Linked DNA regions of Homo sapiens: regions 2, 3, 4, 5, 6 and 7 are each linked to region 1. The links are contacts of gene promoters, found by promoter capture Hi-C in blood cells and fetal thymus (Javierre and others, 2016). All regions are on one chromosome and are shown on one strand. Each heading gives the region's core, a stretch centred on a gene start or on the middle of the fragment in contact. The rest is flanking DNA. Distances are from core to core; before and after follow the strand shown.

Evidence for each region. Contacts are between HindIII fragments. The CHiCAGO score rates a contact against its expected background, and 5 or more counts as called.
Region 2: a contact is called between a fragment that was not itself captured here and the fragment with the promoter of SNX20 in region 1, in 5 of 17 cell types (total CD8 T cells, non-activated CD4 T cells, monocytes and 2 more). The highest score is 8.6, in total CD8 T cells.
Region 3: a contact is called between a fragment that was not itself captured here and the fragment with the promoter of SNX20 in region 1, in 10 of 17 cell types (total CD4 T cells, non-activated CD4 T cells, total CD8 T cells and 7 more). The highest score is 11.7, in total CD4 T cells.
Region 4: a fragment that was not itself captured here is called in contact with the fragment with the promoter of SNX20 in region 1 in 6 of 17 cell types (total CD4 T cells, naive CD8 T cells, neutrophils and 3 more); the score reaches 9.5 in total CD4 T cells.
Region 5: a fragment that was not itself captured here is called in contact with the fragment with the promoter of SNX20 in region 1 in 4 of 17 cell types (total CD4 T cells, neutrophils, total CD8 T cells and 1 more); the score reaches 6.7 in total CD4 T cells.
Region 6: a contact is called between a fragment that was not itself captured here and the fragment with the promoter of SNX20 in region 1, in 9 of 17 cell types (activated CD4 T cells, non-activated CD4 T cells, monocytes and 6 more). The highest score is 12.3, in activated CD4 T cells.
Region 7: a contact is called between a fragment that was not itself captured here and the fragment with the promoter of SNX20 in region 1, in 6 of 17 cell types (naive CD8 T cells, total CD4 T cells, naive CD4 T cells and 3 more). The highest score is 7.8, in naive CD8 T cells.

Annotation. Positions count from the first base shown.
Region 1 is chr16:50,679,174-50,683,286 of GRCh38, reverse strand. It overlaps SNX20 (sorting nexin 20), which reads left to right and starts at 1,975. Exons shown (of 4, transcript NM_182854.4): 1 at 1,975-2,097. The HindIII fragment of the contact is 15,976 bases long and covers 1-4,113 here.
Region 2 is chr16:50,178,263-50,182,375 of GRCh38, reverse strand. All of the region lies in intron 1 of TENT4B (terminal nucleotidyltransferase 4B), which reads right to left. Among named protein-coding and RNA genes, the nearest start is that of TENT4B, 27 kb to the right of the region's middle. The HindIII fragment of the contact is 5,075 bases long and covers 1-4,113 here.
Region 3 is chr16:50,203,924-50,208,036 of GRCh38, reverse strand. The region is part of intron 1 of TENT4B (terminal nucleotidyltransferase 4B); the gene reads right to left. Among named protein-coding and RNA genes, the nearest start is that of TENT4B, 53 kb to the right of the region's middle. The HindIII fragment of the contact is 6,724 bases long and covers 1-4,113 here.
Region 4 is chr16:50,223,184-50,227,296 of GRCh38, reverse strand. TENT4B (terminal nucleotidyltransferase 4B) reads right to left here. Exons shown (of 12, transcript NM_001365324.3): 7 at 3,910-4,113; 8 at 2,514-2,640; 9 at 2,303-2,406; 10 at 2,012-2,199. Among named protein-coding and RNA genes, the nearest start is that of ADCY7, 41 kb to the left of the region's middle. The HindIII fragment of the contact is 8,159 bases long and covers 1-4,113 here.
Region 5 is chr16:50,254,361-50,258,473 of GRCh38, reverse strand. It overlaps a transcript of ADCY7 not described here. Among named protein-coding and RNA genes, the nearest start is that of ADCY7, 10 kb to the left of the region's middle. RefSeq lists an enhancer at 3,791-4,113. The HindIII fragment of the contact is 8,884 bases long and covers 1-4,113 here.
Region 6 is chr16:50,284,186-50,288,298 of GRCh38, reverse strand. ADCY7 (adenylate cyclase 7) reads right to left here. Exons shown (of 26, transcript NM_001114.5): 2 at 1-387. The coding sequence starts at 119. Among named protein-coding and RNA genes, the nearest start is that of MIR6771, 6.4 kb to the left of the region's middle. RefSeq lists an enhancer at 3,864-4,113. The HindIII fragment of the contact is 581 bases long and covers 2,161-2,741 here.
Region 7 is chr16:50,316,578-50,320,690 of GRCh38, reverse strand. ADCY7 (adenylate cyclase 7) reads right to left here. Exons shown (of 26, transcript NM_001114.5): 26 at 2,556-4,113. BRD7 (bromodomain containing 7) reads left to right here. Exons shown (of 17, transcript NM_013263.5): 14 at 1-28; 15 at 300-443; 16 at 661-804; 17 at 1,425-4,113. The coding sequence ends at 1,480. Among named protein-coding and RNA genes, the nearest start is that of MIR6771, 26 kb to the right of the region's middle. RefSeq lists an enhancer at 398-1,597. The HindIII fragment of the contact is 7,497 bases long and covers 1-4,113 here.

The DNA.
Region 1 (4,113 bases), core at 726-3,225:
ACACCTACAAACCATTAAAAATAATCAAGTCAATAATGAGCAATGACCTTGAACAGACACTTCATTGGAGAAGGTATAAGGATGGCAAATAAGCCCATGAAAAGATGCTCAACATCATTAGTCCTTAGGGAAATGCAACTTAAAACCTTGATGAGAGACCACTGCACATTAATGCAGTGGTACACTGAAAAACACTGACCAAACCAGACACAGTGGCTCACATTGGTAATCTCAGTACTTTGGGAGCCCAAGGCAGGAGGATTGCTTGGGGCCAGGAGTTCAAGACCAGCCTGGGCAACATAGTGGCCATGATGGTCTATCCCTCCAGAAACAAAAAAAATTTATTAGCCAAGCATGGTGACGTAACTGTAGTCTTAGCCACTCAGGAGGCTGAGGTGGGAGGATCATTTGAGCCCAGGAGTTCTAGGTTGCAGTCAGCTATGATGGTACCATTGCACTCCAGCCTGGGTGATAGAGCAAGACCCCATCTTTAAAATAATTATAATAATGACCATATCAAGTGCAGGTAAGAAGGTGGAGCACCTGGAATTCTCATATACTGCTGGTGGGAATACAAAATGGCACAGCCACTGTGGAAAATATTTGGCGTAATCTAGCACAGTTGAAGCTATCTATACTCTGAGACCCAGCAATTTCACCTCAGATAAGTACATGGACTTGGATAAATGTGTAAGAATATCATCAGTGGCATTGATCATGATGGCCACCCTAGGAACAACCCAAGTGTGCATCAAAAGACAAAACAAAAAATGACAAATGGTGATGTATTTAAATAATGAAGCAACAGAAAACCAAACACAGCATGTTCTCACTCATAAGTGGGAGTTGAACAGTGAGAACACATGGACACAGGGAGGGGAACATCACACGCTGGGGCCTGTCAGGGGTGGGGGCCAGGGGGAAGGAGAGCATTAAGACAAATACCTAATGCATGCAGGGCTTAAAACCTAGATGATGGGTTGATAGGTACAGCAAACCACCACGGCACATATATACCTATGTAACAAACCTGCAGGTTCTACACTGGTATCCCAGAACTTAAAGTAAAATAAATAATAATAATAATGTAGCAACACAACAATGGAAATGAAAAAAAGTATCTACACAGAAATGCATCAGTGAATCTTATACCCATAAATGTTGCATGAAAGAAGCAAGGCACTGGAGAATACACACAGTATGCATGGTTCAATTTATATAAGATTCACAGATGAGTAAAATGAAACTGAATTGTTTGGGGATCTCATAGGTGGTAAATTTCTAAGGAAAAGCCAAGAAGTAACCCCCATCTGAATCAGGACTGTGACTGCCTCTAATAGGGAGGAAGGGAATCATGGCTCAAAAAAAAACACATGGCAAACTTCTGGGCGAGCCAGCAAAGTTCTATTTTTTTTTTTTTTGTCTGATTTCTGTTTCTTGCCTTCAAGGCCACAAAGATGGGTGGGCATGAATCACACCACACTGCCCTGGGGTTTCGCTTCCCTGGGACTTTCTGTTGGTGGTGATGGATACAGCTTTGCTCAGAGAAAAGGCACCAGATGGAACTGTAATTCTACCCCACTGCTCTTCTATGTCAGTCACTGGCTCTGTGTCCCACCAGCTCTGTGATCCAAGCCTCGGTTTTCCCATCTGTTCAAGGGGCATGACGGCCCCCATCATGCCTAGCTCATAGAGTAGAATAATGAATGTTAAAGGGCTCTGGGAGCTAATGCCTGAATTCCAGAGATCAACGGGGACTCGAAGGACAGCCAGACCTCTGCAAGGCGGCAGGGAAAGTGAGGCTGAGCTAAATCCCACAGGGCTGGCCCCACACCGCCTTGCCCTTCCCTGCGCTACCCGGAAGAAGAGGTGGGTACAGCTGGCAGGCTGGCAGTTGAGTTCAATATACCATGTTTCACCAGCCAATGGGCTGGGGCGATCAGAAGCAGGTCACACAGCCTGTTTCCTGTTTTCAAACGGGGAACTTAGAAAGTGGCAGCCCCTCGGCTTGTCGCCGGAGCTGAGAACCAAGAGCTCGAAGGGGCCATATGACACTCCTCCCGGACCCCTGGACACACACAGCCCTGGAGACTGGAGGTCAGTATTTGATCCCAAGCTCAGCTGTCCTCTGCCTGCTGTGGCCTGAGTCCCCTTCTCCTGGGGCCCTGCCTGGCACCTGCTGGGGGCAGGGTGGGAGGGGGAAGAGTTAGTGACAGCCACTGTGTCTGGAGCTCTCCTTAGCACACTGAGGCAGAGGAAGGGACAGCTCCTGGACCTTCCATCACCTCCATTCCTTTTGAAATGCTAGGCGCTTGTACAACCCATCTTGGGCCTGGAGAATAAGTCACCACACCTGTGTTTCTCAAAAGAACAGTGTCAGGGAACCCCTGCCTCAGCACAGCCTTAGAGGACTCATGGAAAATGCAGAATCCAGGCCTGTTCAATGGCACCTTCCTATGTTAGCAGCCAGGAAACCTGCTCTTGGACAAGCCCCTGGGATCCCACCCCCACCCCACCAGGGGATTCTTACACACACTGGGTTGGGAGCCCCTGGCTTTGGCAAGGCTTCTCAGGTGAGCGTCCAGTTGTTGGAGGGTACCCACCCTTTCCCCAAGAGAGGCAGCCACACATCCAACATCCTGGGATCTCTGTCTCCCAGCGTGGGCCATGTGCTTTATTTCACCCCCTAGAGGCTCATCCCCCATGAAAAGTCCTCCGCAGGCCCTCAGAAAGATAGTGTGGCCTCTGTGTGCCCAGCAGAAGAAGGACTGGACTTGGCAGTCAGCTCTTGGAGAGGGGGTGGTTAGGACACCTGGGGACAGGAGGAGGAGAATGACTGTCTGTGCACACACGGCTGGAAGGCAGAGGAGGCTGGGAAGCTGCTCTGTCCCCTGGGCCAACTACAGGCCCCCAGGCCAACAGCAACAACACTTTTAGTATTTTGTTATAAAGTCAAGAAATCTTTGCTACAGAGGGTGAGGAGAGGGAAGGAAAGGGCCATGGAACCGTCTATGTGGCTATCCCCAGAGAGCTTTTAGAGTGACAGGATTGCTTTCCCATTTCACAGATGAGGAAACTGAGGCCTGGAGAGGGATGGGAAGCTACCCAAGGCCCCATGGATACACCAGTGCACAACTCTTTCCTTCCCCCTCCTCTTTAAATGGGTGACTCCCAATGAAACCTGTAAGAGACAACCATAAGGGAGCTGACTGTGGCTGCTGAATTTGATTTTATTCTAAGGCCTGGTTTTATAATCAGCTTTCTCAGTCTTTACTGGAGTGTCAAGCCGAGGCATCATTTCTAGGGTCTTACAGGGTCTCTGGGCCAATAGTGCCCTGCTTCTGACCTGGAGCCAGCTGCCTGGTCATGAAAGCAGATCTGCAAAGGCTGGGGCCCCTGAGGCCAAGGCCACTCGCCATCACCCATTTTACAGAAGTGCTGAGCATAGGAGTGCCCTGGGCCCCCAAGAATCCCAGCCACCAAGAATCACGTAAACCATCCACTGTCTCACTTAGGCACCAGTCAGAATGTAGGGAACCCACCCCTAGTCATCCATCATCTTATCAACAGGACGGGGCTTGTAGCCACATTTATCAGGTAGGGAAACTGAAGCCTAGAGATATTAAAGCACTTGCTTAAGGACACACGGTTGGTCAGGATGGAAGGCGATGTCTCCTGACTCCCTGACAGGCACAAGAGACAAGCGAGAGGTGCCCGTGACGGCATGCTCAAGAACGTGCAGCCCTGGGCCAGCCAGGCCCCTGCTCCGTGCCTCTGTTTGCCCATCTGTAAAAGGTGAGGTTGGATCGAGGGTCCCTGAGGGCCGCCCACTGGATGGCTGTGCAGAGCCAAACGGAGAAGGCCCCAGGGTTCCTTTCACCCGACACAGCAAGCACTTCCCCCTGAAGTGCAGGCTCCAGGCCCCAGCTGACCTCCCCTCTCCCAGGCCAGCGGCTCTCACCCCTGGAGCAAGGGACAGGCGCTGGCTGTGCTCAGGGACATGCATGACTCCCGCCCCCATCTGTGCTCAGGGGGTGCCAGGGAGGCACTGGCTCTATCTTTCTCTAGGCCGTAGTCAGCCCAGGGGTTCAGACCAAGAGCCCAGAATCCAAC
Region 2 (4,113 bases), core at 945-3,444, 500 kb after region 1:
GGAGAAAAATTAATAAATATACAACCTATAGTTTCTAACACTGACATGAAGCACCAAAGAAAACGCAGAGCACATCAAATTAAGTTTTCTCTTGATGATTCTTTTTCTCCTTTTTTTATGGCAGGGTTTCACTCTGTTGCCCGGGCTGTAGTGTAGTCTTGGCTCACTGCAACCTCTGCCTCCCAGGCTCAAGCGATCCTCCCGCCTCAGCCTACTGAGTAGCTGGGACCACATGCACGTACCACTGCATCCAGCAAATTTTTGTATTTTTGGTAGAGACAGGGTTTCACCATGTTGCCTAGGCTGGTCTTGAACTCCTGAGCTCAAGCAATCTGCCCACCTCGGCCTCCTACTAAAGGGCTGAGATTACAGGCATGAGCCACCATGCCTGGCATCTCTTGATGATTCTTGATGTTTTGACACAATTATTCTGGTTACTATCACCTGGTATTTACATCACTAACCTAATCTAGCATTTTTAATAAAATGTTTCCAGGTCAGTGACTAGCACACAAGCACTGAGCATAATTCTCCTGAGTACCCACCTCATCTCCATCACCTCTGCAGCAGTTTGGCTGAAAGACAATTTAGCAGGACCAATAAAACACTTAAAATGTCCACTCTCTGTCCCAGAAGACACAGCACATGTACATAAAGAGGCATGTGCAAAAACAATCACTACAGCCCTGCAAATGAAAACACTGGAAACAACCTCTGTGTTCATCAGTAGGAATGTGGCTTTTAAAAACTATGGTTTTTAAATAAAGTGAAGGCTGGGCATGGTGGCTCACACCTATAATCTCAGCACTCTGGAAGGCCGAGGCAGGTGAGTTGCTTGAGCTCAGGAGTTCAAGACCAGCCTGGACAACATGGTGAAACTCTGTCTCTATAAAAAAAAAAAAAAAAAAAAATACAATAGCTGGATATGATGTTGTGTGCCTATAGTCCCAGGTACTCCAAGAGGCTGAGCCAGAGGTTGCAGTGAGCCAAGATCACACCACTGCACCCCAGCCTAGGCAACCCTATCTCAGGGGAAAAAAAAAAAAAAGTTCAAATCCATGATTGCAGGTGGCTTGAATCAGACTGATAAAGGGCATTTCAAGGCACACTGTCTCCACATTTAAATCCACAAACACACCTCCTTTGTGACTCTCCAACAATATAAATATTCTGTCTTGCTTAAAAACAAATCCAGTTAAAAACAAAGAAAAACCCAACACTTTTGTACAAGACCAATTTTTTAAAACTTACACATAATTTCACAATTTAATATTTTTACTTTTAATCCAAAAAGCAATTGTGTTACAAGGCCTGAGCCAAACTTCACTTCATTACAATAATGTCTGTGGCCCACATAACTATTTTGTAGTTGTTTAATTCACTTGTTATGGTTCTAATCAATACAGAAAAATCAGTGAGGAAGAAAACTATTCTATTTTAAGGAAGCAAAACTATTCTATTTTAATAGTTTGGAAGTTTGAGGACTTCCAACAGTTCATCTCACTCTTGGACTACTAATCTCCTCTACAGCAATGGGGTCCCTTAGACCCCACTGCCCCTTCTTGAGGGATTTTGACAATTGGCCAGGTTTGGGAACCTATAGTTTAATAGCGCCTTTGGGCAGCAGTTTTCAACCTTTACTGCATACGATTTTTTTTTTTTTTTTTGAGATGGAGTCTCGCTCTGTCACCCAGGCTGGAGTGCAGGGGCACGATCTTGCCTCACTGCAACCTCCACCTCCTAAGTTAAAGCGATTCTCATGCCTCAACTTCCAGAGTAGCTGGGACCACAGGCACATGCCATCATACCCGGCTAATTTTTTTGTATTTTTAGTAGAAACAGGGTTTCGCCATGTTGGCCAGGGTGGCCTTGAACTCCTGGCCTCAAGTGATCTGCCCACCTCGGCCTCCCAAAGTGTGAGATTACAGGCATGAACCACCGCAACTGGCCTATTATTTCAAAAAATATGTGAAGGCTGGGCACAGTGGCTCATGCCTGTAATCCCAGCACTCTGGGAGGCTGAGGCAGGCAGATCACAAGGTTAGGAGTTCGAGACCAACCTGACCAACCATGGTGAAATCCCGTCTCTAATAAAAATACAAAAATTAGCCAGGCATGGTGGCACACACCTGTAATCTCAGCTACTCAGGAAGCTAAGGCAGAAGAATCACTTGAAACTGGGAGGCAGAGGTTGCAGTAAGCTGAGATCGCACCATTGCACTCCAGCCTGGGCAAAAGAGCGAGACGCCATCTCAAAAAAAAAAGAAAAAGAAAAAAAGAAAGTGAAAACTATCACTCCCCTACAAATGTATTTTATCAGAGTACCTGAGAAGTGGGTTCTAGTCACTAATTTTTTTTTTAACTTCCTCAGATTGAGAACCGCACTTAGAAGGAGCTGCTTTAGGAGTTATCACTATCAAGCCCACTGAGCCCATCATCATTATCTGCATGGTCCACAGGAAACCCAACGGTATGGCAGAAGACAAGGTGAAGCACCAAGCCCTGGTTTTATTTGATTTAACAGACTTGGGCTGACAGGACCAGATTCTAGAGGCACACTAGGACACATTACAGACTAGGGCTAAGAAACCCTGGATTCAGGTAAAGATAAAGTCACTATACTAACAGCAGAACTTGGTAATGTCACTTAACTTCTCTGAGGCTCAAGTTATTAATTTTTTAAAAAAGGATTGGAGTAAATCACCTCTGAAGATCCTTTGATCTCAAACACCTTGATGATTTCTAACCATGTTGTAACAAATCGGTCAAATGAATAAGCAGAGTGGTCCTTACAGTAATGCATGAATATCTTCTGCAAATATCAGATTAACCTCATATATACAATTTTGGGCTTATTTACATAAAAATCCTACTCCTCACCACACCATAAGAAATCTTAACTGAACATTAGTGTGTTCTATCAAGTCAATTACAAATGAAAATTAAACTGGTCACATAAGCCCCAAAGTAAATATAAACATTTGGGATAAAGTAAAAAAAAAAAATTTTCTTTTGAGACGGAGTTGCGCTTTGTTGCCCAGGCTGGAGTGCAATGGCAAGATCTCGGCTCACTGCAACCTCCACCACCCGGGTTCAAGCGATTCTCCTGCCTCAGCCTCCCAAGTAGCTGGGATTACAGGCATGCGCCACCACACCTGGCTAATTTTGTATTTTTAGTAGAGACGGGGTTTCTCCATGTTGGTCAGGCTGGTCTCAAACTCCTGACCTCAGGTGATCCACCCGCCTCGGTCTCCCAAAGTGCTGGGATTACAGGTGTGAGCCACCGCACCCGGCTGGAATAAAGTAAATTTTTAAAGTAACTCTTTAACCTTTTCACTGTCAACACCATCCTGATGTTTTTTATAATTTTTTTCCATCTGTAAAAATTGTTGTAAAACATATGTAACATAAAATGTACCATTTTAATCATTTTTAGGTGTACAGTTCAGTGGTATTAAGTACATTCACACTGTTGTGCAATCCTCACCACCATCCACCTCCATAACTTTTTAATCTTTTCCAAATGAAACTCTGTACCCATTAAACATGAATTCCTCATTCCCTCCTCCCCACAGGCCCTGGCAAGCATTATTCTAATTACTGAATTACTGTTTCTATGACTCTTATATTCCAGATACCTCATATAAGTGCAATCATGCAATATTTGTCCTTTTGTGTCTGGCTTTTCTCATTTAGCATAATGATCTGAACGTTCATCCATGTTACAGCAGTGTCAGCATTTTCTTATTTTTAAAGGCTGAATAATAGTAGCCCATTGTATTCATACACCACATATTATCTATTCATCCATTGATGGACACTTGGGTTGCATCATTCTGATTTTTTTTTTAACCATCAGTAGTTATTTTGAAGTCACATACAAAAAAGATGAATGAACTTTATGTCATCAACTTTTTTTTTCTTTTCAAGAGAGAACAAAATTTCACTCTGTTGCCCAGGCTGGAGTACAGTGGTGCGATCATGGCTCATGTAGCCTCAACCTCCAGGGCTCAAGCAATCCTCCCACTTCAGCCATATACAGGTATATGCCACCATACCCAACTAATATTTTAAAAATTTGTTGTGCAAGTGAAGTCTCTATATGTTGCCCAG
Region 3 (4,113 bases), core at 806-3,305, 480 kb after region 1:
AACTAGCTACGTGTGAAATACTCAGAGAACAACCAGATAAAATATCTTGGAATACTGAGGAAATAAACTTCAAGTACAGATTTTAAAATAATTCTAACAGGCTCTATCCTCAGGACTGAGTAATTTTACTGGCACAGTGCCTTGCATATTCAGGCACTTAAAATACCCTGACGAGCTGGAAGTCCGTTTGTAGAGTGTGCACTGTAAGTCTGGCTCTCATTTGAGTGGCAGAGTGGACCACCTGAGGAATTTTGTAGGCTTGCTTTCACATGGTAATATAATTTTATGCCTCTGAAAGCATCCAAGTACACAGAGAAAACTTCAGTTTCTCCCATGTTTGGATCAAAATTTAATATGATTTATGAGTAGGTATTGCTGGATGACACATGCCCATTGTTACAGTTTCTCATATGAAATTATAAAATACATCATACTGAACTAAGAATGATGAAAAAAAGTATAGAATACAACTCTTCCGTGATCTGAACCTGTATGTACCCAAAATACAGTGCCCTCTCTAGGATATCAATGTTTTTATGTTAAAAGGAAAAGTGGCTCGGGCACAGTGGCTCACGCCTGTAACCCTAGCATTTTGTGAGGCTGAGGCGGGTGGATCGCTTGAGTCCAGGAGTTCGAGACCAGCCTGGATGACATAGTGAAACCCCATCTCTACAAAAATACAAAAAAATTAGCCAGGCGTGATGGTGCACGCCTGTAATCCCAGCTACTCAAGAGGCTAAGGTGGGAGAATCGCTTGAGCCCGGAAGACAAAACTTGCAGTGGGCTGAGATTGTGCCTCTGTTCTCCAGCCTGGGCAACAGAGCAAGACTCCGTCTCAAAAAAATAAAAAAATTTTTAAAAAAGGAAAAGTGAACAAGATCCCTGTTCACAAAAGAAAAGTCATATAAAAGCAGTATGATAAAATGAGCACCACTATACAACGGGAAAGGATGCCAAAAAAAAAAAAAGAGAGAGCAAGAGAAACAAAATTAATTTGCTGGGGTAAAATTTACATTAAAATCTCAAAATTAATAACAGAACATTTAATATGACAAGGAGGTGTCCAAAAAACAGATTCCATATTTAAAAAATAAAACTCACAGGTAATTTAGGTTAAAAAAAAAAAACAAACTTCTGTTCTGAGGAAAGATCTGCTACAGAAAAGGAATCCAGCCTATCAAAATTATGTGAATTTTATAATGCTTGTCATGGGGTGGGAGGTTCAAGATCTTTGGCTGGAAAAGGAAGAACCATTTCGCATCCTTCAGCTGGACCACCCTGGGCACACTGTGAGTTGCTTAGTAGCTTCTGCATTCTCAAAACCAAAGGCAAGGTGGAAAGCTCCCTTGTGCCTTCTAGGCCAAGGGAGGCAGATGACCCACGGCCAGCCCCTCTGCTCAGCACCGTCCCCTGCGGCTCATCCATGTTTCTGTTCAGGGATGACACTGCTTCCCAAGAGATACCTGCCCAGACACAGCATGTCTGAGCCCACCTCCACATCAAGGTCCAGCTTTCCCAGTTCCATAACTGAAGTCAGACCTGTTTTATTACCAAATTCATCCCTTACATGAAGGAACTGACAAAGTTCTATTCGATAACTGTCAATAACAGGACATCCCTCCACCAAAACAAACTGTCAATAACAGGACATGCCCCCACCAAAAAAAAAAAAAAAAAAAAAATACATACATATATATTTATCTCTTAAGGTTCATGATATCCAATTTTGAAACAATATATTGAAAAGGCATTCATATGCATGTGGGGAAGTATAAATTACTACAATCTCTCCTGAGGTCATTCTACTAACAAACGATAATGTTTACACAAATAATTTTTAAAATTTCCCTTCTTTCCATCCTCCAGAAATATTTTCATGAGGGAACAAGGATATCTGTATAAGGATGCTCACCACAGGATTAATTAGGATACTAAAAAATTTAGAAATGATATCAATGTCCATCAACAGGATCCAATTAAATAACAACAGAAGCACCCATAAAGCACTTTCCCTTTATAGCCAATAACCTCTTAAAAAAATAAAGCTATATAAGCTGATAAAGATGTCAAATATGTTAAATTGGAAAGAAAAAGCATAAAAAATGTGTTCAGCAGAATCTCTTTTGTGTGCGTTAGACATGTGCAGGGGCAGAAGCAGTGGCTCACACCTGTAATCCCAGCACTTTGGGAGGCTGAGGCGGGTAGATCACTTGATGTCAGGAGTTTCAGACCAGCCTGGCCAACATGGCGAAACCCCATCTCTACTAAAAATACAAAAATTAGCTGGGTGTGGTGGCAGGCGCCTGTAATTCCAGCTACTCGGGAGGCTGAGGCATGAGAATCACTTGAACCCAGGAGGCAGAGATCACAGCAAGCTGAGATCATGCCACTGCACTCCAGCCTGGATAACAGAGCAAGACTCTGTCTCAAAAAAAAAAAAAAAAAAAAAAAAAAAAAAAAAAAAAAAAAAAAAAAAAAGACATGTAAACACATACACACAGAGGCAGACACACAAAATGTTCCTATTTGCATTGCAAGTTTTCTGGAAGGAGAACTGTTAACAGATATTACCTTAGGGACAGGGACTTTTGCCCAGTGGAGGGCACAGGCAGGAGAGTTAGGAAGACTTTAACTTATTTTTGTATCTTTCTGTACTATTATAATTTTTTTTAAAAAATCAGCATGTATTTGTCCACTTTTGAAACAGAGATTATTGTCTGCTTGATGAGATTATAGTCCAGGAGATTTGTTGTCACCTTTATATTTTCCCATGTGAAAAATATGGTTGTGAGTATGCATGTTCCACCCACTAACCAGCCCTCTGCCCGCCCCACACAGAACAGGGTCTATATACGATACTGTTAACAGTGATCACATCCGAAGAGGGACTGGGGGGGTCATTTTAAGAAAAATGCATACATGTTAATTACCACTGTATATTTTTAAAACAAGAACTTCATCATAAAAAAATTCATTAAAGAAAACACAAAGCAGAAACACTTAAATTACTCTAATAATCTAGCCTTGCAGACACACTTCGAAAGAGGGTGATATGGGCCGGCTGTGGAAGGAGCTCAGTGGTCAGCCTGTGGGCAATACTGACAGCTGGGGACACAGAAGACCTCCAAACCCAGGAATGCAGTGACAGCACACACCAGTACATTTTGCAAAGTTTCTGCATGCCCAGTGCAGTGTGTGTGGTGAGTTTCTGCTAGTGTCTGGCCCATCCTTTCTGGGATTATTTATATACTCAAACGCGTTGCAAGGCAAATTTCTGGAAGAATACACAAAAACTGCTAGCAGGACTTTCCTCTGGGGTGGAATAGAGGTCTGAATTTGCATGATTTTGTACTGTTTGATTTTCTTCAAGCCTGCCTAGACACCAAGAGAAGCGAGTGACTCAAGGCCCTGGGGTGATGGCAGGGCAATCTGGGTGACATCTTCAGGAGACTGCAGATGGATCTTTACCAAGAAACTCATGCACACATCCAGCCTCCTCCTATACTTGCAGCTACCAGCTAGACATCCCTACAAAGATGTCACCTCGAACTAAACAAGTCCAAAACACAACTGCTTGTCATTCTCTTAAACCTATTCCTACTCCTGTGTTTTCTTCCCTGAGTTACTGTTTCCTTGAGTGGAAACTTCAGTCTTCCTTGGTTCACCTTTCTTCATCTACGGAGCCAAGAGGTTTCCAAATCCTTGTTCCCAAAACCAAAAAACAAAACACTTCCAAATCAGACCCTGCCCCTCCACCTTCCCTGACCGTGCTCTGAGTTCAAGTCTTTTTCTCTCTCAGTAGAACACTATGGCAGCCTCCAAACTGGTCTCCCTACTATGAGCCTCTCCCTTTTCCAGGCCATTGCTGCATGATTACTGAAGTCCCCTTCCTTAGCCTATCTGTGTCACTTCCAACCTCCTTATGGTAACACTGCCTACCTTTCTAGCCTCACTCCCAAGAGCTTCCGAGCCCTCTTCTACGACAGCCCCACAGAACTGGACCAGGGCACGCCTTGCTTTTTCAAGAATCACCTTCTCACTCAGCTCAAATATTAGCTCCTCTGTAAAATTCCCAGAGGCAGAATGACTTCAGAGCCTCCTGGGGGCTCCTGG
Region 4 (4,113 bases), core at 1,058-3,557, 460 kb after region 1:
CCAGCATGTCAGAGTCACATTCTCTCAGTCCCCAACACTCCATCTCCCTGTGTCTGTGACATCTAGCTTGGCTTCTGTCCTCCAAAGCATACTGCTCTAGGAACCAAAAAAGCACACAGGGAGATTCTGCACAGGAGGATTTATGATTCCATATTGACACATGGTCATCATCAACAACATACAATATTTAGATTACTTTTCATGTCCTACACTTAATAAAGTTAAACTCAAACAGGTAAGCCTGCTTTAGATCTCAAATCAGTACACTACAAATTCACTTTGATTTTAAAAGGTAACTTACATTATAATTGACACATAAATTCTATCAGGATGGGGGAACAAAAAAAATTCTATCAGGATAGAAAGAGAAAGTAGATTAGAGGTTACCAGAGGTTAAGGGAGGGAAGGAAGAATTAGAAGAAACTACTGCTAAATGCAGGGTTTCTTCTTGGGGTGATGGAAATGTTCTAGAATTACTGGAGATGGCTGCACAACATTGTGAATATGTTCTAAAAACCACTGAATTGTACATTTTTAATGCTGAATTTTATGTTAACTATATCTCAACTAAAAAAAAATTTGGCCAGGCGTGGTGGCTCACGCCTGTAATCCCAGCACTTTGGGAGGCCGAGGCAGTCGGATCATGAGGTCAGGCGATCAAGACCACGGTGAAACCCTGGCTCTACTAAAAATACAAAAAATTAGCCGGGTGTGGTGGCGGGCACCTGTAGTCCCAGCTACTTGGGAGGCTGAGGCAGAATGGCATGAACCCGGGAGGCGGAGCTTGCAGTGAGCCAAGATCGCGCCACTGCACTCCAGCCTGGGCGACAGAGCGAGACTCCGTCTCAAAAAACAAAACAAAACAACAACAACAAAAAATTCAACCAGAAAGCTGAAAAAAAATTGAGTGAAAGAAGCCTTACACAAGACTATATTCTATGTGGTTCCATTTGTATGAAATTCTGAAACAGGCAAAACTAACTATGGTGTTAAAAAGTCATAACAGCTGGGCTCACGCCTGTAATCCCAGCACTTTGGGAGGCTGAGGCGGGTGGATCTCTTGAGGTCAGGAATTCGAGACCAGCCTGGCCAACATGGTGAAACCCCATCTCTACTAAAAATACAAAAAATTAGCTGGGTGTGGTGGCACATGCCTGTAATCCTAGATACTCAGGAGGCTGAGGCAGGAGAATCGCTTGAACCCAGGAGGCGAAGGTTGAGGTGAGTGAAGATCATGCCATTACATTCCAGCCTGGGTGACAGAGCAAGACTCCGTCTCAAAAAAAAGAAAAGAAAAGAAAAGAAAAACGTTAAAGGCCAGGTGTGGTGGCTCATGCCTGTAATCCCAGCAATTTAGGAGGTTGAGGCGGGTGGATCACAAGATCAGGAGTTCAGGACCAGCCTGACCAACATGGTGAAACCCCGTCTCTACTAAAAATACAAAAAATTAGCTGGGTATGGTGGTACGCACCTGTAATCCCAGCTACTCAGGAGGTTGAGGCAGGAGAATCGTTTGAACATGGGAGGCGGAGGTTGCAGTGAGCCGAGATCATACCACTGCACTCCAGCCTGGGTGACAGAGGGAGATCCCGTCTCAAAAAAAAAAAAAAGGAAAAAACAATAAACAAATACTGGAGTCTGGCTACAAGGATGCACAAGCTACAGTACTCTAGGGGAACTGATGTCTGTAATCTACTTTGAAATGGATCAAAGAATAAGATGAATTAATGGATAGAGTGATGGATAGACAGGTATGACATAAGCAAGTAAAAGGTTAATAGCAGAATCTACTGGTGAGTACATGAATGCTCACTAAAATTTGTTCACTTTTACTATATGCTTGAACTTTTTCATAACAAAATGTTGAGAAAATGTACAAGCATGAAAGTTATTAAAATATCCCAGTAACATGTAAGCAAAGGAAGTAGCCTTAGCCTTCGAGACAGTGTTAACCCCAGCAAGAGAACGTGCATGCATCTGAGTTCAGAAGAGCCGAGGCTTTCATACTTACTACATCACTAGAGCTGGACTGTGTGGCAGAAGAGGACGACACTGGACCTGATGAAGAGTTTGAAGAGTGTTTACTAAGAGATTCCGAGGTTTTACTTCTACATTTTCCAAGGGCTTCATTTTCTTCAGATAGATTATTATTACATTTATCTAACTGCTGAGTATCTACTATCAAGGTAACACCATTTCCTGAAAGAGTGGCAAAAGATTGGAAAACGTTTCTTCCCATTAAACGCACACAACACAGAAAAGCCTCTAATACTCAGTCAATCGACCAAGGAAAATATCTTACCATTGCATGAAGGCTCAGGTCTATTCTTCAAGCCCCACTGCTTTGATATCCAATCTCTATATGTGGCAACTTCATCTGTTACTCTAATTATTCTACCTAGTATGCTGCATGTGTTTAAAAAGAAAGGGAGAGGGAGGGAATAACATTAATTTGAAGATAAGAAGCCACAACTAATTTTGACACAATGGGCTGGTTATAGATGAACTTTTACCTTTCTGTTTCATTGTTGGGATAGTACTTTGCTATTGGTGATACAGCATGACTCAAAACAACGTAGGCATAATCAAAGGCCTGCTTCACTTGCATGGCCCCATATGAACTCCTTCCAACATCGTTACCTTTAAAAGAAATATACGTAACATAGTAAGCCTGACTGTGCTTAATATGCACTAAATGTTGATGACTCTCTTCCAGGAGAGCAAGGGCCATAGTTATCCCACCAGAGTTGTGCCTGGAAGCTGAGCTGTGAGCTGTCCCCAAAGCTCCCCAGTCTCTGAATATGTGAATCATGCAGTTGGTACTTCATTATGGTGTATCAGTTGCCGGAATGTATTCTGGCCCATCAAGAATTATCCCATTCCATACATAAACAGTTATGCAAACAAAAGAAATAGTGCCCTGTTCACTCCTAAGAGTGAAACCCCAAGTTACATCAGAAATACTTCTATATTTTTTGGGTTTATATTAGCTATATATCTATTTCTCACTCTAAATTATGAGCCCCTAAAAAGCAAGGATCGTCTTGCTGAAAAGTCTTCGTGTCCTTTGGCCCAATACTTTTGAACAGAGCAGGCTCCCAATCAATGTAATGTTTCCTCAATGAATAAACACATAGAACTATTAATGTTTATAAGGCAGCTCAATAAGCCAGAAAATGGTTCCTAGGCAACTACTCTATCTCTTCACCCCCTTTCCTTACTCATTTTCAAAGTTTACACATTAAAGCAAATGACTAAAAGCACTTCCACTGAAGTCCAATAACGCAGAATCTATTTTACAATTATATCAAGAAAAAATATTGCTCACAAAAATCAGGACACAAGCAAGCAAACAGAACTTCAGAAAAGCATGGAAGGAATTTACTTTCTGCTTACTTTCAAGCCCACATGAAGCTGGAAAAAGCACAAAGAGACATGCAAAATCAAACAGGAAAGGAGAAATTCAAAAAGAAAATACATTGTCTCCTTGCACCCTTCTGCTCATGAATTCAAAGATATATTACTATGCTTGCTGCCTCTCAGGACTTCAGAATCATCTCATTAAAGCCTCATTAATTGCTGACAATTGGTTGTAATCAAGGCAATAAGGACCCAAGAAGGAGAAACAGCCACCAAACATGAACCCATCCAAATAAGTGAATGCCTTTTCTACTATGCTTTTAGGGTTAAACAGATTCTACTCCCTACTTATCTGGAAGTCTCCAAGGTGTTTTTCTATTGTCTGTGTCTGTTTATTTTAGTATGTTTGCTCATGAAATATTTCGATGAAAAAAGAATAACAATTAGAAGTTGTTCCTTCATTTTTCATCTAAAGAGAATTTAAAGTATAATAAGGTGACTGACAGTGCCCTCTCTTTGAATGCCCACAAATTTACCTAATTTCAATACCTGGTTGTAAAGGATCTTCGATATAAAGCATTGATGGCCTGTAGCCATCTAGCATATTTTTCTGTACTTCATCTTTGGCCACATATGAACCACCATCCTTTATCCGGATGCCAGTCTTTAAATAATTGAAGTGTCGTCCATATAATTCAAAAAATTCTATTAAGAGAACACCATAGTTTGTATTGGGGATGCAAGCATCTTCCC
Region 5 (4,113 bases), core at 805-3,304, 420 kb after region 1:
AAACTGAATTAGATCAAGCCTCTGGATACAACTATGAATTTATAGGATTCAGGGGACAAGGAGCATGCTACACATTATAGGAAGCTCTCCTACAGGTAAAGGGACCCAGCTTCAACAAAAACACCACATGGAAGACAGAGAGAATGAGTACCAGTCCTACAGATGAAAAACTGAAGAAACATATCACAGTCTCATCATGCAGACCTCATTCGGATCCTGATTATTATTATTTTTTAAAGAGACAGGGGCTCTCTCTGTCACCCAGGCTGGAGTGCAGTGGCGCAGTCATAGCTCACTGCAGCCTCCAGCTCCCAACCTCAAGTAATCCTCCTGCCTCAGCCTCTCGAGTAGCTTGGAGGTTACATTACAAGTGCATGCCACCATGCCTGGCTCTGGATCCTGATTTTAAAAAGCTAATATTAACATATAGGCCAGGCACGGTGGCTCACGTCCCTAATCCCAGCACCTTGGGAGGCCGAGGCAAGCGTATCACTTGAGTCCAGAAGTTCGAGACCAGCCTGGGCAACGTGGTGAAATCCTGTCTCTACAAAAAATACAAAAAAATTAGCCTGGTGTGGTGGTGCATGCCTGTGGTCCCAGCTATTAGGGAGGCTGAGGTGGGAGGATCACCTGAGCCTGGGAGGTAGAGGTTGCAGTGGACCGAAATCGCATCACTGCACTCTAGCCTGGGCAACAGACACCCTGTCTCAAAAAAAGAAAAAAAAAGATAAATCTAATATATAAAATATAAATATATATATATATGACATTTACAAAACAATTGGAAGTTTGAACACCGAATGGATAGTTACGATCTTAAAGAATTACTGCTAATGTTTAGCAATATGTGTGGTAAAATGTTTGTTTTTTTAATTTTATTGTAAATTGATCAGTTATAATTGTATATATTTATGGGATACAAGGTGACGTTACATATATACAATGGAGAATGATGAAATGAAGCTAATTAACATATCACCTCAAGTATTTAGCACTGTTTGTGGTGAAAACATTTGAAATTACCCTCTTAGTAATTTTGAAATGTACATTAACTATAGTCACCATGCTGTGCAATAGGTCTCAAAAAACTTATTCCTCCACTGAAACTTTGTATCCTTTGACTGACCTCTCTCTATCTCTCCCCATCCCACCCCTGCCCCCCTTACCTACACACAGCCTCTGGTAACCACCCTTCCACTTGCTGCTTCTGAGTTCAATTGGATTTTTTTGTTGGTGGTGGTCTTTTGCATTTGTTTTGTTTTGTACAGGTGGGGTGCTATGTTGCCCATGCGTTTTGAACTCCTAGCCTCAAGCAATTCTCCCACCTTAGCCTCCCAAAGAGCTGAGATGACAGGCATGAGCCACCGCACACAGCCTAGATTTCTTGGATTCCACACATAAGTGAGATCGTGCAGTATTTGTCCTTCTGTGCCTAGCTTATTTTACTTAGTGTAATGTCCATTAGGTTCACCCATGTTGTTCCTTCTTTCTTAAGGCTAAATAGTATCTCATTGTGTATATATGTCACATTTTCTTCATCCATTAATGGACACTTGTTTCTAGATCTTGGCTATTATGAATAATGCTGCAATGATTATGGGAGTGCAGATATCTCTTTGACATGCTGCTTTCAAATCCTTTGGATATGTACCCACAAGCGGAAGGAAGGGAGGTTCCTACTATTTTCCATAATGGCTGTGCTAATTTGCATTCCCACCAACAGTGCTCAAGGGTTTCCTTTTCTCCACATTATCTCCAACACCTGTCTCTTTTTTTTTGGAGACAGGGTCTTGCCCAAGCTGGAGTGCAGTGATGTGATCATAGCTCACTGCAGCCTCTGAATTCTGGGCTCAAGTGATCCTCCCACCTCAGCCTCCTGACTAGGTAGAACTACAGGTGCACGCTGCCACACCTGCCTTGTTTTTTTATTTTTTGTAGAGATGGGTTCTCCCTATGTTGCCCAGGCTGGTCTCAAACTCCCAGGCTCAAGCAATCCTCCTGCCTTAGCCTCCCAAAGTGCTGGAATTACAGGCGTGAGCCACCACGCCTGGCTTCTCTTGTCTTTTTAATAATAGCCATTCTAACAGGTGTGAGATGATACCTCACTGTGGTTTTAATATGCATTTCCCTAATGATTAGTAATGTTGAACATTTTTTTGTATACCTGTTGGTCATTTGCATGGGTTCTTTTGAAAAATGCCTATTCAGGTTCTTTGCCCATTTTTTAATTGGGTTTGTTGTTGTTGTTGCTGTTATTGAGTTCCTTATCTATTTTGGATATTAACTTCTTTTCAGATGTTTGGCTTGCAAATATTTTCTCCCAGTCTATCGGTTGTCTCTTCTGTTACCTGTTTTCTTTGCCATGCAGAGGCTTTTAAGTTTGACATCATCCTATTTGTCTATTTTTGCTTTTGTTGCATGAGATTTTGGAGTCAAAAATAATAATAATAATTGCCCAGACCAGTATCACATAGCTTTTTCCCTATATTTTCTTCTAGTAGTTCTATAGTTTCAGGTCTTATGTTTAAGTCTTCAGTCCATTTTGAGTTGGTTTTTATATGTAAGGATCTAATTTCATCCTCCTGCCTGTGAAAACCCAGTCTTCTCAACACCATTTATTGAAGAGGCTATCCTTTTCCCATAGTGGGTCCTTGGCATCTTTGTCAAAAAAATCAATGGACTGGGCAGGCACAGTGGCCCATGCCTGTGATCCCAGCATTTTGGGAGGCCGAGGCAGGCAGAGCCCTTGAGCTCAGGAGTTCGAGACCAGCCTGGGCAGCATGTTGAAACCCCATCTCTACAAAAAATACAAAAATTAGCCAAAGGTGGCATGCACCTGTTGTCCCAGTGACTCAGGAGGCTGAAGTAGGGGCATGGCTTGAGCATGGGAGGCAGAGTTTGCAGTGAGCCAAGATCCCACCACTGCACTCCAGGCTAGGTGACAGAGTGAGACACTATCTGAACAACAAACAAACAAACAAATCATTGGGCTGTAAATATATTCATGGGTTCATTTCTGAGCTCTCTATCCTGTTCCATTGGTTGATACGTCTTTTTTTTTTTTTTTTTTTCCAGAAACAGAGTCTTATGGGCCAGGCATGGTAGCTCATGCCTGTAATCCCAGCACTTTAGATGGCCCTATCTCTATAAAAAAGAAATTATAAATATATATATATATTTTAATTGGCTCACTCTGTCACCTAGGCTGGTGTACAGTGGCACAATCATAGCTCACTGCAACCTCAAGCTCCTAGGCTCACGCAATCCTCCCACCTCAGCCTCCCAAGTAGCTGGGACGACAGGCTCCTGCCACCACACTCGGCAAATTTTTAATTTTTTTTTTTTTTTTTTGTAGAGACAAGGTCTTGCTATGTTGCCCAGGCTAGCTTCAAACTTCTGGCCTCAAGCAATCCTCCCACCTCAGCCTCCCAAAATGCTAGAATTACAGGCATGAGCCACCATGCCTAGCCCAATGTGTCTATTTTTATGCCAGTACAATGCTATTTTAATTACTGTAGCTTGTAATATATTTTGAAATTAGGTAGTGTGATGCCTTCAGCTTTGATCTTCTTGCTCAAGATCACTTTAGCTATTTGGGGTCTTTTGTGGTTTCACCTGAATTTTAGAATTGTTTTTTCTTTTGTTTTGGCAGGGGGTGGGGGTGGGGGGGCAGGGAGACACAGCTTTTGGTATAAACCAAAGGTGTGTTCCCTGTTTTTTCTTTTTCTGTGAGAAGTCACTGGAATGTTGACAAAGGCTGCATTGAATAGCTTTGGGTAGTATGGACATTTGCACGATATTAATTCTTCCAATCCATGAACATGGATAAAATCCCATCTATTTGTATCTTGTTCCATTTCTTGGTTCATTGTTTTATAGATTTCAGCATACAGCTCTTTCACCTTCTCCGTTGAATTTATTCCTAAGTATTTTTTCGCGTGGCTATTGTGAATGGGATTATCTTCTTGATTTCTTTTTCAGATAGTTAGCTAACATACAGAAACATGACTGATTTTTGTGTGTTGACTTTACAGCTTCACTGTGTTAGTTTATTAGTTCTAACAGTTATTTGGTGATTGTGTGTTTTTTAAGCATCTTATCTTTTAGTAACAT
Region 6 (4,113 bases), core at 1,202-3,701, 400 kb after region 1:
AGCAGGAGCGTGAGCAGCAGCGGCCCATGCTGGCTGGTGAGCTGGTACTTCTCGTAGAGCGCATCTTGGTCAGGGCCCTCCTCGCCCTCGTTGAGGAAGTAGCGCCCCTTGGCTGGCATCCTCCACCCTTGGCACGCGTGTCGTTAAGGGGCCGTTAAGGAGGCCCCAGGGCCTGGAGGGCATCTGTCTGCCAACACCCTCCCCCGTGGGCCTAGGCCTCTGTCCTCTCCGAGGCAGGCAAGCAGGGCTGGGGAGAGGGCCTCTGGGCCTGCTGCTCCATGGCCAACAAGGGGTCCGCACAGCTCTGGCACCAGGCCTCACTCACTGTGCCGCCAGCATCCTCCTGTGCATCCAGACTGGGCTGACTCCACACGCAGTTCCTCAGCTCTGCGGAGACGAAGCAGACAGGAACTTGACCTAATGGTCCAAGTCAGGGGAGGGCTAGCATCAGGGAGAGCGGGGCCCAGGCCTCACAGCACCAAGTCTGATTTATCCATCTTAACCCTAACCTAACTTTTATGTCCTGTTGTCGTAAAGCTAGTCCCCTGTGTCTTCTAGGACTGCACTGTCCAAGATAGTAGCCACTAGCCACATGTGGCTGCTTTTTTTTTTTTTTTTCAAGACAGGGCCTCACTCTGTTGCCCAGGCTGGAGTGCAGTGGCACGATCATAGCTCACTGCAGCCTCAAACTCCCGGGCTCAAGTGATTCTCCCACCTCAGCCTCCTACGTAGCTGGGACTACAGGTGTGCAGCTAATTTTTAAATTCTCTTTTGTAGAGATGGGCGTCTCCCCCTGCTGCCCAGGGTGGTTTTGAACTCGTGGGCTCAAGCAATCCTCCTGCCTCAGCCTCCCAAAGTGCTGGGATAACAGGCATGAGCCACCATGCCCAGCCACTATTTTAAATTAAATTTAAATTAATTTAAAATAAAATTAGAAATTCAGTCCCTCAGTCACACTAGCCACATTTCAAATACTCAACAGCCAGCCAGGCATGGTGGCTCATGCCTGTAATCCCAGCACTTTGAGAGGTCGAGGCAGGCAGATCACCTGAGGTCAGGAGTTCGAGACCAGCCTGGCCCACGTGGTAAAACCCCCCTCCACTAAAAATACAAAAATTAGCCGGACATGGTGACGTGTGCCTGTAATCCCAGCTACTCGGGAAGCTGAGGCAGGAGAATGGCTTGAACCTGGGAGGCAAATTTTGCAGTAAGCTGAGATCGTGCCATTGCATCCAGCCTGGGCAACAGAGTGAGACTCCATCTCAAAAAAAAAAAAAAATCAAATACCCAATGGCTACATGCAGCTGCTGTACTGGACAGCACAGATAAACAGAGAATGTCTATCATCACAGAAGCTTCTACAGGCCAGCTCTGCTCTGCATGTTTCACTGTTTTGCTTTCACACAAAGGTCTCTGATCCATTTCGATTCACTCTGGGTATGGTGTGAGGTAGGGATCAAGGTTCACTTCTTTTTTCCATATGGATATTGAATTATCCCAGCAGTGTTCAGTGAACCGGCCATCCTCTCTCTGAATTTCAGTGGAGCCACCTCTGTCATAAGTCAGGTGATCACACACAGATGGTGTCTGTTTCCAGGCTCTGCTCTGTCCCCATGGTCCTGGTGCAATCACCACATTCACTTCATTTTCCAGTGAGTCTCATGCCTCCAGGCACAGAGGGTTCCAAGCTGTGATCCTAGGAGCCCTGAGATTTGGGGACATGCATCAGGCCCCCAATGGGAAGGGAAGGTGGGGGGGCATAGGCTCAGGCCCCCATGCCTGCTTCAGCCAGGGTAGCCCCCTGCATCTGTGTTACAGTAAGCTCCACATAAAACTGCATTTTCTTTCTCTCTTTTTTTTTTTTTTTTTGAGATGGGGTCTCACTCTGTCACCCAGGCTGGAGTGAAGTGGTGTGATCATAGCCCGCTGCAGCCTCAACCTCCCAGGGCTCAGGCAATCCTCCCACCTCAGACTCCTGCGTAGCTGGGACCTCAGCTATGCAGGAGGCTAAGGTGGGAGAATTACCTGAGCCTGGGGAGACTTAGGCTGCAGTAGGCCATGTATTTTTTGTAGAGATGGGGTTTTGCCATGTTGCCCAGGCTAGTCTTGAACTCCTAAGCTCAAGCAATCTACCCTCCTCAGCCTCCGAAGTGTTAAGCTTTCAGGCACTGTACCCAGCAAAAATCTTGTTTATTTTTTTAAATAGCCCACTGATACAAATTTCAGATGTCTGCAAGCCGTGCTTCACAGAAAAGGGAGCTGAGTCTCAGAGAGGGACACAGTGGCCCCTTTGTGACAACACTGTGAGCTGACCCCACACTTGCCATGCTCAGCCCATATGGGTTCCTTCTTTCCCCAGCACCATTCATTCCTTAGCATATTCATTGATTCCAAAAAGGCTTGTGAATCACACCTACGCCTGCCAGCCCTTATATCTCCTGTGTGCTAGTCTGGGCTCTCTCTCCCCAGGGATCCCCATCAGTCTCCAAAGGTAGGAAAATTACCAAAATTGTGCAATCCCTCACACAGCAATGGGGACTTGGGGACAGCTGCCATATTCCCAGCAGGAACCTTGCATGAAGGGGGCAACCCTGGACCAAGAGTCCACGCCCCCAGTGTCCTCCAGGCCTGCCTCAGATTGGAACCAGGACAGGGCCAGAGGCAGAGGGCAGGGAGGCTGTGAGACACGGGACAGCTCAGAGCAGTCACAGGGCACAAATGGCCAGCCGCCAGCAGAAGCTTCAAAGGACAGCTGGTCCAGCGGAGGGAAGATGGCCAGGTGAGCCCCCAGCCCCCAAAGGCAAAAAGCAGGATATCCAGGGTCCCCAAGTCCCCAACCAGCACCTGCTAGTATGAGATCCCTGGGGCCACCTCAATTCCAGGAGCCACCTCAGGCTCTATTTCCTCTGGAAGTTCCTATTCCATCACCACACACCAGGAACAAAATGGTAAAACCACATATTTGGGGAAGGAGGAAGGGGTCATTTGCTGGGGGCCCCATCCCCTTCAGTGCCTGGGCAGGTGTCTACAGGCCTTGGCACCTGTTCAACGAGGGGCAACCCTTCAGGGATGTGGCCAAGAGCTGTCAAAGTGCCCAAAGTGCTCAGACAGGCTACAAATCTGATTTCTACGTGAAATGATGATTTTTAAATGTTGGCAGCTGATTTCAAATTTTTCAATATTTGCAGCCCACTAGTTTACAACCTCTAAATCTAAACTAATCAGTCTGTATTCCACAAGAGGCATTTACTGTGTGCTAACCATATACATCCAACCCTGTGCTGTGGGGGTTGCCAAACAAGATAAGGTCCCTGCCTGAGATACATTCAATTCAGCACCCCCCACCCCAAAATAGCCCTTTGCAGTAATAACAGCAGCAGTTCCTGTCACCCCCGGCACCTGCACACACATTCACTCTCATCTTCACAACCGGCAAAGGCCAAGGTGGCACCACCGTCTCACAGATGCAGAACTGAGCCCAGAGAGGCAGAGTGGTTGCCTAAGATCACACTGCTGGAGCTGGTGGACAGATAGGCTGGGATGCAAACCCAGGTCTGCCAGCTCCCAAACCAGGGCTCCTCAGCCCAGGCTTGCCCACTGACATCCCGGGGGACTGAGCCAGATGCCACAGCACACAAACAGCAAACCCACCTGACCCCTGGCCTGCTGCCAAACACCAGTGCACCAGGACAGCCAGGCTGAGAAGCTCCAAACACCAGAGGGCTGAGGCCACTCCCCACAACTGCTCCATCTCCCAGGCAAAGCCCCCAGACCAGAGCTGAGGCGGCCAGACACGTGCATGAAAGTGCAAGTGTGAGAGTGTGTGGACACACCCGCTCCAGGCACACAAAGCCAGGCTGGGCCACCACGAGGAAAGGGAGGAACCAGCTGAGAGAGTCCCAAGGGCCCGTGGGAACACAGGCCTGGTAAACACGCCTCTCAAGGAACTCATTAGGCCACTTTCTGGGCAACGGCAGGCAGGCGCAGGTGGACAGTGGACAACATGGGCACAAGGACTTCAGCCCATCCAGGGACCTTGGCCAGCTCCTGGAACAAGCCGGGCACCGTGAGGCCTGGGGGGAATGAACTCACTGATCACATCTCCAGAGGGGG
Region 7 (4,113 bases), core at 730-3,229, 360 kb after region 1:
GTTCCAGTTGAAGTTTTTGACTCTGAAGGTAAGTGTCTCCAGAGGGTTTGATTGAAACACTGCATGATGTAGGCAGTCAAGATTTCATGTCTCATAAGTACAGATTAACATAGCCATTCACCACAGGAAGATCTTGGCTTACCAAGTTAAATGAATGGGTATGGCGTGTTGATGTCATTTCAAGCGGATTACTCTTTTGAAGGGAGAAGGCTAACCAATAATTAGCAAAGCCCTAGAGCCTAGGATTCGGTTTACTGCACAAGATCAAACAGAAGTGTGTCTGTTTTCTTACCACACAGAAGCTGAAATATTCCAGAAGAAACTTGATGAGACCACCAGATTGCTCAGGGAACTCCAGGAAGCCCAGAATGAACGTTTGAGCACCAGACCCCCTCCGAACATGATCTGTCTCTTGGGTCCCTCATACAGAGAAATGCATCTTGGTATGTTTTGCCTCCCATAAGAGGAGAGTCACGGGATGCTTCAAAGAAAAAACTTCTTGAGTACAGTGGTGATGCCACTATAGAGTAATGCTGATGTGAATCCCAGGGACAGTTTTTTTGTTTTGTTTTCTTTGCATGTGTACATTTACTGTTCTTTGGGATGCCTCTATCTAAAGGAACCATGCTTTAGTATCTGGAACTTTGTTTTTCTTTTTAGCTGAACAAGTGACCAATAATCTTAAAGAACTTGCACAGCAAGTAACTCCAGGTGATATCGTAAGCACGTATGGAGTTCGAAAAGCAATGGGGATTTCCATTCCTTCCCCCGTCATGGAAAACAACTTTGTGGATTTGACAGAAGGTACGTGCCCTGTTTTCTCTGGGAAAGCAGAAAGCTATGGTGACTATAGTCATCCCTCAGTGTCTGCCCGAGATTGGTATCAGGACCTCGGATTTGGTATTTACCCCACAAAGATAGCAAAATCTGTAGATGCTCAAGTCCCTAACATAAAAGGTATTTGCCTATACCCTACACACAACCTCCAGTATACTTCAAATCATCTCTACTTATATACTTCATAGAATGTAGTTAATAGACTGTATTTTTTATATTTTTTTCATTGTTTGTTGTATTTTTTTAATTGGGTTTTTTCCCCAAATATTTTTAATTGGCAGTTGGTTGAATCTGCAGATGTGGAACCCATGGATAAGAAGGGTCAACTGTAAAAGGAACATTTATCTGTTTTTAATGTATAAACTACTCTTAGTTTTCTTTTTATCTTGTCTAAAGAATTAATAAAGATTTCCTGTGTGCAGAAGAGCCACAATGATCACCTGATAATGCGCGTAGTCTTCAGCCTTGGATGTGGTGAAGAAGGGCTCTCAGCAGTTATGCTTCTGGATGGCAGCTTGACTTTCATGTCCCCTTTTTAATTAAAAGGTAAAAACAATGTTGAATTAAGTGATGTCTTTTTCTTTCAGACACTGAAGAACCTAAAAAGACGGATGTTGCTGAGTGTGGACCTGGTGGAAGTTGAGGCTGCCTGGTATTTGATTATATATTATGTACATACTTTTTCATTCTTAACTTAGAAATGCTTTTCAGAAGATATTAAATATTTGTAAATTGTGTTTTTAATTAAACTTTGGAACAGCGAATTTGGATGTTCCAGAGGTTGGACTTGTATTAGGTAATAAAGCTGGACCTGGGACTCGTGAGGAAGGAATGTGCTTGGGGCTGTTGCCATACCTGTGCAGCATTCTTTCAAAATAGTGCCTTCCAATGCTTCTTCCTTATGTCCCACAGACAGGATCATCACTAAGAAGCGTTCTTAAAACGGCCCCATCCAGTGAGATTTTCCGTTATACGAACATACTTGAAATAATTTTAGAATTTACTACTGTGGTTCTGCCCCTGCATACCCAGTGGGAATGATGCCCTTGTATGGGTAATTAGGCACCTCCCACCCACCCCTGACAAAAGCACACTGGGAGTTTTATAGCACTGTCACATGGCTAGTGTTCTTTTTTGGTTTTTTCCGTTTTTTAAAGAAAGAGGAGTTACTTAGTACTATAGCAAAGTAATAAGCCAAATAAGATAAACTAAGTCATCCTTGAATAGATCAGGGAATTACCAGATTACCAAAAGGTGACATTTCTACTTTACTTACTGTTTATCTGAAATACAAAGGTCAAGTACCCAAGGAGTTGAACTCTAAGTAGGAGACCACAAGATTCATGGCCCCCTTTTATCAGCAAGCTGAGATAAATGGTGATTTTGCTGAATCGGTATAGAACCTGTTATACACAAGGGAAAAAAATCAGGATGGAGATAGATAGATAGATAGCCTTGTTCAGTGAACAAATTAAGTTTGAAGGCCCTTATACAATCCTTCTATAAATCACCCAGGCAGGAAGCCATTTGATTTCTATTATTTTCCTGACTTTGAAAATTAATTAGTATTTAGGAAGAACAAATAGGGTAAAGGAAAATTAATTCCCTCAAAAGACTTAAAATCTTATGCTAAAAGAGTCAAATTTTCAAGTTGTTTGAGTCTACTTTTAATCTCTAGTGAGTTCATGAGGACCACGAAAATAAAATACCTTCAGATATTTGAGTTTTTCAAATTGCTAATTTAATGTATAAAAAGCAGCTAAACACTGGTACTTTATAAAAATGAAACAGCATTTTGAAACAAATGTTACAGATCTATAAATATTCATTATATAGAATAAACCCTAGTTACTTGCATGCACCACCTCAAATCATATTTCTTTACACTGACCTATTATATACACAAAGTATACAGTGGTTAATGATCTTCTCTTCTGTTTGTTTGTTTGTTTGTTTGTTAGGAAATTTCCTCAATAAGCCAGAAAACCTTAGGTATTATTTTCACAAAAGTTAACTCAGGAGAAATTGTAAGGAAGTCCTTGACCCATGGAGAAGGTCACTGTTTGTTTGTTTGTTAGATACGTGTGTCTGTCATAAAACAAAATGACACCAGTAATTACTTGGTAATTTAAAAACAAGTTCATAAAAAGAAAATACCTGCAGGTAATTTTTATGGTCAGTTATATTCTATAACCTGAACACTGAAAACTAAAAACTTTTACTTACAAACTATTATTATCTGAGCACAGCACAGTGCTTTGCTTTAATTGGAAATAAAAATGCATGAGTGAGTGGTAGTCAGTTATTTGTTAAACTCCCAACTGGGGTTTCTGTTGTTACTGAAGAAAAAAACAAATATTCCAAGAGTACAAATATGCTGACCTCAGAGAGGCCCAGTGCACTAATGTGTTTCTATGTTATATTAGCAACAGAAACCTTCCTGACTTGCCAGGAGAGCCCCCGCCGGGCAGCCCTGGTCACTGCTAGATCTTGAGAGCACAGATTTCAGTATAGTATTCATGTGAAACCAGCCCTTCATGTAAAAAGTTTTGGTGTGTAAAAAAGGCAACTTAAGCGAGGCTAATTGCCCTTACCAGCATTGTTGCCATGAAATTCCTTTATACAGCAAGTTCTTCTATTCATACTGATTCCACTTATGTGCAGCACATGAGAGCTGCCACTAGTCTACCCAGCACCTTTGTGCAAATTAGAATACACCTGCCCTTCCTCGGGCTGATAAAGCCACACGACACAGCACAGGCAGACAGGTTCAATTTTCGTTCCCTCCACCGCCACCCCCGCACTTAGCTGTACTCTTAATTTGCAGCCCGGGGCAACTCATCCCAGGACCCCAACAAGTCTGGTCAGTCACCCAATCTGCAACCCTGTATAATCATCTTGTAAAGGCTCCTGTATGCAAGACTTTGTGTAGAACTTTACGGGGTTCATGGGGACACCTAGCTAAGAATCCCTGCTATGTAGGGAAACTGAGTGCATTAGAAATCCTGGCGATGCTCTGGTGATGAGGCCACCGGTTAAGTCTTCCGGTTATGAAGTCCATTCAGAAAAAGTCACGGGCAGTTTGGTCATTTCTCACCCTGTTGTTACAGTTAGGTTGACTTTCAATTCCTTGGGAAGTTGAAGCACAGTAAGACACATCCCCAAAACCTGGCTTTTTGCATTTGCCTTGACTCACGCAGTTTCAGAGCAAGAACGGCTCAGCATTTGTGAGGGGGCGGGCTTCCCAGATCCAGGAGCCTCTGCATGCACCCATGC